Regions from separate parts of the Homo sapiens genome. Here all the other regions are linked to region 3. Evidence: promoter capture Hi-C in human tissues and cell types (Jung and others, 2019). All regions are on one chromosome and are shown on one strand. The core of a region is centred on a gene start or on the middle of the fragment in contact, and the rest is flanking DNA. Distances in the headings are between cores, read along the strand shown.

The links. The method cuts DNA at HindIII sites, captures the fragments that hold promoters and counts their contacts. A contact is called where the count stands out against the background at its distance.
Region 1: a contact is called between a fragment that was not itself captured here and the fragment with the promoter of LGALS4 in region 3, in 5 of the 25 tissues and cell types used here (dorsolateral prefrontal cortex, lymphoblastoid cells, mesenchymal stem cells and 2 more).
Region 2: a contact is called between the fragment with the promoter of SIRT2 here and the fragment with the promoter of LGALS4 in region 3, in 3 of the 25 tissues and cell types used here (aorta, liver and spleen).

Annotation. Positions count from the first base shown.
Region 1 is chr19:38,935,720-38,938,419 of GRCh38, reverse strand. It overlaps LOC124904713 (a long non-coding RNA gene), which reads left to right. Exons shown (of 2, transcript XR_007067253.1): 2 at 1,568-2,700. Among named protein-coding and RNA genes, the nearest start is that of MRPS12, 6.1 kb to the right of the region's middle. The HindIII fragment of the contact is 4,061 bases long and covers 1-2,700 here.
Region 2 is chr19:38,898,314-38,901,013 of GRCh38, reverse strand. It overlaps SIRT2 (sirtuin 2), which reads left to right and starts at 1,396. Exons shown (of 16, transcript NM_012237.4): 1 at 1,396-1,508; 2 at 2,589-2,635. The coding sequence starts at 1,493. NFKBIB (NFKB inhibitor beta) reads right to left here and starts at 1,045. Exons shown (of 6, transcript NM_002503.5): 1 at 803-1,045. The coding sequence starts at 981. The HindIII fragment of the contact is 18,718 bases long and covers 1-2,700 here.
Region 3 is chr19:38,811,695-38,814,394 of GRCh38, reverse strand. LGALS4 (galectin 4) reads left to right here and starts at 1,450. Exons shown (of 10, transcript NM_006149.4): 1 at 1,450-1,553; 2 at 1,876-1,964. The coding sequence starts at 1,509. The HindIII fragment of the contact is 29,723 bases long and covers 1-2,700 here.

The DNA.
Region 1 (2,700 bases), core at 26-2,525, 120 kb before region 3:
ATACTTTGTGCTGCCCCCACTCGAGAAGTATTACTCCAATGTTATGATCACTTACAAAATTCGATTTCTTGCGCTGGTTTAATTATAGCTCCTGACAAAATTCAGACTACTACTCCTTACTCCTACTTGGGGACCTTAGTAAATGACACTACCATTGTGCCACAGAAAGCAACCATACATAGGAATCAATTGAAAACATTAAAGGACTTTCAAAAATTACTAGGGGACATTAATTGGATACGACCTGCTCTAGGCATTCCTACCTATGCCATGAGTAATCTATTTTCTATCCTTAGAGGAGATCCTGGTCTCACAAGCCCTCGGTAATTAACAAGAGAAGCTGAGGCAGAGCTGCGGCTAATCGAAAAGCAAGTCCATAAAGCTCAAATAAATAGATTAGATCCAGAGAAGACTCTAGATTTGCTAATTTTTCCAACTCAGCATTCACCTACTGGTGTTATTGTTCAAGAGTGAGATCTTGTAGAGTGGCTTTTTCTTCCACATACTAATTCACGGACTCTAACTCCTTATTTGGATCAAATTGCTACTATGATAGGAAATGGGAGAACTCGGATTGTTAAATTACATGGATATGATCCTGGAAAAATTATTATCCCTCTCACAAAGGCACAAATACAGCAAGCTTTTATAAATAGTCTTACTTGGCAAACCAATTAAGCTGACTTTGTGGGTATTCTCGATAACCATTTTCCTAAACAAAACTGTTTTAATTTTTGAAATTAACTAATTGGATTCTCCCTAAAATAACTAAATTTAAACCAATTGAAGGTGCTGAAAATGTTTTTACAGATGGGTCTAGTAATGGTAAAGCTTCTTATTCTGGCTCAAAAAGTAAAGTTTTTCAGATGCCCTATACTTCAGCTCAAAAAGTGGAGCCTGTAGCTGTAATTGAGGTAGTGACTGCTTTTCATATGCCTATTAATGTGATTTCTGACTCTTCATACGTGATTCATTCCACACAATTAACTGAAAATGCTCAGTTACAATTTCCTGCAGATGAACAACTGATGATTTTATTTACCCAACTGCAAACAGCAGTTAGGAGTAGAATGCACCCTTTTTACATCACTCACATTAGGGCTCATACACCTCTTCCAGGCGTCACCTTTTGCAGTGTTTTGCAGTGATGGGCATTCCAGCTTCTATTAAAACAGATAAAGCCCCAGGCTACACTAGCCGAGCTCTAGCTACATTTTTCTCTATACGGAATATTAAACACATTACTGGTATCCCATATAATTCTCAAGGACAAGCCATAGTGGAAAGAATGAATCTCTCCCTGAAACAGCAGTTGCAAAAGCAAAAAAAAGGGGGGAAAACAAGGACTACGGGACACCCCATATGCAACTGAATCTAGCATTGTTAACTTTAAATTTTTTGAGCCTGCCTAAAGGCCAGATCCTATCAGTAGCTGAACAGCATCTACAGAAACCAGCTGCAAAGACAGAAGCAGAACAACTAGTTTGGTGGAGAGATCCAATAACAAAAAGTTAGGAAATAGGTAAAATAATAACTTGGGGTAGAGGTTATGCTTGTGTTTCTCCAGGACTGACTCAACAGCCGATTTGGATACCATCAAGACACCTGAAACCTTATCATGAGCCAGATGCTGAGGAAGAGATTCCGGGAGGAAACTGAGGACCCCCCCCACCCCCGGTTGCAGCCATGTCGAGACTGACGCTGAGGAAGACCCCAACTGTCACGAGCAACACCTGTCAAACACAGCCACCCACCTGGAGACAGATCAAGAAGCTGTCACAGATGGTGGAAGAAAACCTGAGGAAAGTGGGACAACCAGTCGCAATGAGTAATTTAATGGTAGCTATGATAGCGATGATCACCACTGCCATGAGTATTCCTTCAATAAGGGCTGACACAGAGGACAATTATACTTATTGGGCATATTTATCAATCTTGGCTGGCAATAATGCCTGGATGTAATCACTCTATGACACAGTTATACAAGCTTTCTGATCTCATAATAAATCTGCTCCTATAATTGAGGCATACTGCCCTCAAAAACATATTTGTAAACAGGATTGGACCCAGTTAGCAAAAATGAACGTACTTGTTTAGGAAGATTGCTTTGCAGAACAGGCAGAGGTGCTGCACAACAATTCCTATGGAATCATTATTAATTGGTCACCTATGGGGATGTTTAGCTTGAACTGCACCTCTCAGTCTGCATGCCATGGCCACACTGTGATCAGCTCATCTGAACAAAATGGTCAGATGATAGAAATGGTAAGAAATACAGCAAGAGTTCCTATTATCTGGAACCATGGCAGTATAGTGGCACCTCAGCCTCAAATGATATGGCCTGCTCTAGGAGCTAAACATAAGCATTTGTGGAAACTGTTAATAGCTCTTAATAAAATCAAAATTTGGGAAAGAATAAAAAAGCATCTAGAAGGCCACTCTACAAACTTGTATTTGGATATTGCAAAATTGAAAGAACAAATATTTAAAGTATCCCAGGCACACGTGAACTTAATGCCAGGAACTGGAGTGCTTGAAGGAGCTGCAGACAGATTAGCAGCTAGTAACCCATTCAAATGGATAAAAACACTTGGAGGCTCTGTGATTTCAATGATGATTGTGCTTTTACTCTGTGTTGTTTGTCTTTGTATAGTGTGCAGATGCGGATCCTGACTCCTGTGAGAAGTAGCTCACCGTGAC
Region 2 (2,700 bases), core at 147-2,646, 87 kb before region 3:
TACTTAACTACCTCTGACTTTATTTCCTTTTCTTACTTTCTATGTTTCTTTCTTTCTGCGTGTCTTTCTTTGTTTCTTCCTGTCTTTCCATTTCTTTCCTTCCTTGTGGTCTTATCAATCTGTTTATTTAGCTCCACTAAAATGTATGCTCCACAAGGGCTTAAGTTTTTGTTTGTTTTCTTCACTGCCTTTATCACTAGCACCTAAACGGAGCCTGGAACGTGGTAATGTGTAAAGAATATTTGTTTAACAGATGAATCCTTGGTCTCATGGAGCTAACATTCTTTTTTTTAATTTTCCTATTTTTTTACTTTAATTAGGAATTCAACATAGAAGAGCTTACATTCTCTCTCTTTGAATTTAAGATTTGAAGAACACTGCTCAGAAGACAGGATCTTAGAGTCAGGGACCAAGTATTAATTTCGGAAATCAAACTCTAGGGCTCAAATCGGGAACTAAGAATCAAAGATCATATTTGGAGGTTAGAAGTCAGGAGAAGCCACAGTTCTAACAGAAGTCTCAGGACTGGAGTCAGGTTTGGGTATCAGTGGATACAATGTGGATTCCAGGAGCTGAGAATCATAGTTCAAGAAAAGAAGGTAAGAAATGATTGGGTTAGGATCATAGCTAGATAGAAGATTGGTTTTGTTAAAAGTTAGGACTCGGGGGTTAGAGGTCAGGAAGTTCAGCATCGGAAGTCAGATTTAGGAGTATGAGGTTAGGAAGCCTCAGGGATCAGAGATTAATGAGGAATGTGACGCCGGGTCCTAGGGCTCCGTTTGGCAGCCTAAGGTTCACTCACGTGTCCCCATCCTCAGTGACGTAGCCGAAGACGAGGGGAGCCCACGACAGCCCCGGGCCCAACTCCGCGCCCAACCCAGGTCCTCCGGGGGCCGCTGCGTCCGGACCCAGGGAGCCCAGGCCGCTGTCGCACCATTCATCTGCGTCGGCAGCTTTTCCCAAGCACGCGACCCCAGCCATGGCCCCCGCCGCCTCAGGGGCCCCCCGCAGTCGCCCGCCTGTAGCTGGGCTTTGCCGGGAGTTCTGGAGCTTCCGCCCTGCGGGAAATTCCCCACCACGCCCCCTGATTCACCCAATGATAATATGCTGAATCGCTCACACCCCGCCCTCGTACTGCATCCTGACCAATCAGAGTATTCGGGAGGACTACAACTCTCTAGCCGTTCCCACATTTTCCGGGCGCCCTTTACCAACATGGCTGCTGACGCCACGCCTTCTGGGACTCGTAGTCCGGTCCTCGCGCGCTTTCTTACCTAACTGGGGCGCTCTGGGTGTTGTACGAAAGCGCGTCTGCGGCCGCAATGTCTGCTGAGAGTTGTAGTTCTGTGCCCTATCACGGCCACTCCCATTTCTGGTGCCGTCACGGGACAGAGCAGTCGGTGACAGGACAGAGCAGTCGGTGACGGGACACAGTGGTTGGTGACGGGACAGAGCGGTCGGTGACAGCCTCAAGGGCTTCAGCACCGCGCCCATGGCAGAGCCAGACCGTGAGTCGGGGATCCGGGTAGGAGGGTCGGGCCGCGCCGGGGCCTGGCTGAATGCTGCAGGCCCCGGGGCCCAAGGGTGGCCGCGGTGGGGCGGGAAGTAGGGAGCGCTTCGGGGAGTGGGATTCTGAGGGCTGTTGCTTAGCGATCTGTATCGCTAGGCTGGTGGGTTTCTGGGTCGCAGTGTGTTCAGGGTTCGTTTACCACATCCACTTGCCAAGTTGCCAATGATCGCGTGTTTCTCGCACCTTGGTTGCTAAGGTCCCTCGCTGCAAAGAACATAAGTTGCCCCGGTCCCGCTTGCTATGGGTACCTGATTGTTAGAGGCAACCAGAGGATGCTGAGGGACCCCTGCTGACCCCTCCTATGGCTTCCCCTTGTTCCGCGCCTCTCCTAAACCTACCGCCTCCACTGCACCACTGCACCTCCCTCCTAAACCTGCCTCCCAGCCAAAGCGTCTCTTCCCTTCTCTTTTCCTTTCTAAACTTCCCTCTGCCTTGTAAATCTAACCCTCCCCGCACACACACTCACACACTGTCGTGTCCTTCCTAACTCCTCCTGAGTGTTCCTTCATGCCCTGAATCCCCTAGGTAGGAGGAGGAGGATCGCTTGAGCCCAGGAATTTGAGGCTGCAGTGAGCTATGATCGCACTATTGCACTCCAACCTGGGTGACATGAGCGAGACCCTTTCTCTAAAAAGTAAAAAAGAAAGAAAGTAAGTCAGGGCCAGAAACAATGGCTCATGCTTGTAATCCCAGTACTTTGGGAGGCCAAGGTGGTTGGATCGCTTGAGCCCAGGAGTTCAAGACCAGCCTGGGCAAAAGCCCCTACTTTCTCCCTGTCCCCCTAAATCTTCCTCTCCAGCCTCTCTGCCCCTCACTAATCACCTCTCCCGGCATCACTTTGCATGTAGATAAGATCTTTTCTCCGTCCCCTCCCTCCCTCTGCTCCATTTTTACCACCATCCCATCCCAGTGTAACTAGGTTGGTGGGTGTTCTTGCCCCCTCACTGACCATTTGAACCCCTTTATTCCCCCCTTAATCGTTCTCCCCACTGTAACCACCTCTGCTCCCCTCCCCCAGCCTCTCACCCTCTGGAGACCCAGGCAGGGAAGGTGCAGGAGGCTCAGGTGAGATGGGGGAAAGGGTGGAGGGGAGGAGAGAGACGGACTTGTTCCACATCCCACACTGGGGG
Region 3 (2,700 bases), core at 201-2,700:
TGTTCTGAGCATTTATTATCTTAATGATCAAGGACTCTATGAAGTTGATACTATTATGATTATTATTATTATGACTATTATTGTTGCTATTTTTAGAGACGGACTCTTAGTCTGTCACCCAGGCTGGAGTGCAGTGGCATGATCATAGCTCACTGTAACCTTAACTCCTGGGTTCAAGCGATCCTCCTGCCTCAGCCTCTGAGTAGCTAGGAATACAGATGTGTGCTACCATGCCCAGCTAATTTTTATTTTATTTTTGTAGAGATGGGGGTCTCACTATGTTGCCCAGGCTGGTCTTGAACTCCTGGGCTCAAGCAGTCCTCCTGCTTCAGCTTCCCAAATTGCTGGGATTGTAGGCACAAGCCACCACACCCAGCCTAAGGTTGATACTACTCTTTTCTTTATTTATTTATTTTTCTGAGTGGCAGTTGGACCCACAGCTAGAACTTATTTGGCAGATTAATAACATACAGGCATTACTGGATCACAAATTCATTTTTAAAATATTTTGATAGCTATTCAATACTTGTTTCCTCTCTTATGAATTCCTTTTTTTTTTTTTTTTTTTTTGAAACAGAGTCTCCATCTGTCATCCAAGCTGGAGTGCAGTGGCGTGACCTTGGCTCACTGCACTCTCCTCCACTCAGGTTCAAGTGATTCTCCTGCCTCAGCCTCCAAGTAGATGGGATTATAGGCACCCACCACCATGCCTGGCTAATTTTTGTATTTTTAGTAGAGACTGGGATTTTGCCAGGCTGGTCTCGAACTCCTGCCCTCAGGTGATCCATCCACCTCGGCCAGTCAAAGTGCTGGGATTACAGGCATGAGCCACTGCACCCAGCCGATACTACTATATCCCCATTTTACAGATGAGCACATGGGCAAATTGAGGGTAAGGCACTGACCCATGATCATACAGCTGAGAAGTGGCAAAGGCAGGATTTGAACCTAGAACCTCTGGCTCCACACACTAGTAATCTAAACCACTCTCCCTACAATACAACATACGTGGTAAAGATGTGTGGTGGGCACGCAATCAACGTAGGTCCCTTCACAGTTGCTGGGAGAGGCAGGAATTTGCAGTTCCTCCGCGTTCTCCTCCTCCGCTGCCCACCTGTCCTGGGTCATTCCTGCAGCCTGCCCTGCCCTGCCTGGTCTCACCCTCCCTCTGCCAACAGAAGTCTGGGCAGGGTTTTATGGGCTCTGATAAGGCCCTGGCAGGGCCGAAGTTCATGAGCACTTCCTCTTTGCAGGAGGGCGTAGGGGAGGGGACCCAGGTGATTTGGGTCCTGGCTGGTCACCAGGGAAGCTGGCAAGGGAAGGGAGACTAGGGTGCGCTCTAGGAGAAGCCGACAGCCTGAGAGTCCCAGAAGAGGAGCCCTGTGGACCCTCCCCTGCCAGCCACTCCCTTACCCTGGGTATAAGAGCCACCACCGCCTGCCATCCGCCACCATCTCCCACTCCTGCAGCTCTTCTCACAGGACCAGCCACTAGCGCAGCCTCGAGCGATGGCCTATGTCCCCGCACCGGGCTACCAGCCCACCTACAACCCGGTGAGATGCCAGCTCAGGCCCCACTCCGCCCGCAGCTCCGTCCATAAGCCCTCACACCAATTTTCCCCACTCTGATCCTGGGGGGCCCCATCTGACTCTGTGGTCTGATTTACCCAAAGCTGACCCCGACCCTCGATTTACTCCTACCCTGACCTCAGGCTGTCTGTGTCCACGTCTAACTGTTGGCCCTCGTCATCTTCAACCTGGTCCTCCCCCATGGTTTCCTCTCTCCTGCTTAAGGGACTGGGGGGCTTTTCTGGGAGGGGTAAAGGCTGCAACAGGCAGATGGCTTGTGAGTCCCCTCACCAGGCCTCTTCTCCAGACGCTGCCTTACTACCAGCCCATCCCGGGCGGGCTCAACGTGGGAATGTCTGTTTACATCCAAGGAGTGGCCAGCGAGCACATGAAGCGGTAAGACCCTCCCCAAGCCAGGCCGGGCTGGCAGGGGACTTCCAACTGGGTGCTCTGGGCCTGGCTGTTGGGGGCTTTCTGCCCTTACCCCACCCTGGTGGAGAGGGGACTCTTTTTCTGCCCCACCCAATAGCCAGAGATGAATCTGGGGCAGATCAGGAGTGGGGACGTGGGGGCCAGAAGGTTCAGGGAGGGCTCACCGTGAGAGGCAGTCCCTGAGTTGGACATTAGACTGAAGCTGATGGGTGCAATGGCAGGAATTCAGATCACAGGCTCAGAGCCGGGTCCCCGAGTTAAAATCCCAGCTCTGCCACTCCCCAGCTCTGTGTTGGTGAAAGAGTGAAAGTGACTATACCTCTCTGTGCTTCATTTTCTTTTCTTTTCTGTTTTTGTTTTTTTTGTTTTTTTTTTTGTTTTGAGATGGAGTTTTGCTCTTGTCGCCCAGGCTGGAGTGCAATGGCATGATCTTGGCTCACTGCAACCTCTGTCTCCCAGGTTCAAGCGATTCTCCTGCCTCAGCCTCTTGAGTAGCTGGGATTACAGGCATGTGCCAGCACACTGGCTAATTTTTGTATTTTTAGTAGAGATGGGGTTTCACCATGTTGGTCAGGCTGGTCTCGAACTCCTGACCTCAAGTGATCCTCCCATCTCGGCCTCCCAAAGTGCTGGGATTACAGGCGTGAGCCACTGCGCCTGGCCCAGTCTTAGCTTTTTAAAAAGGGCCTTAACACGTTGA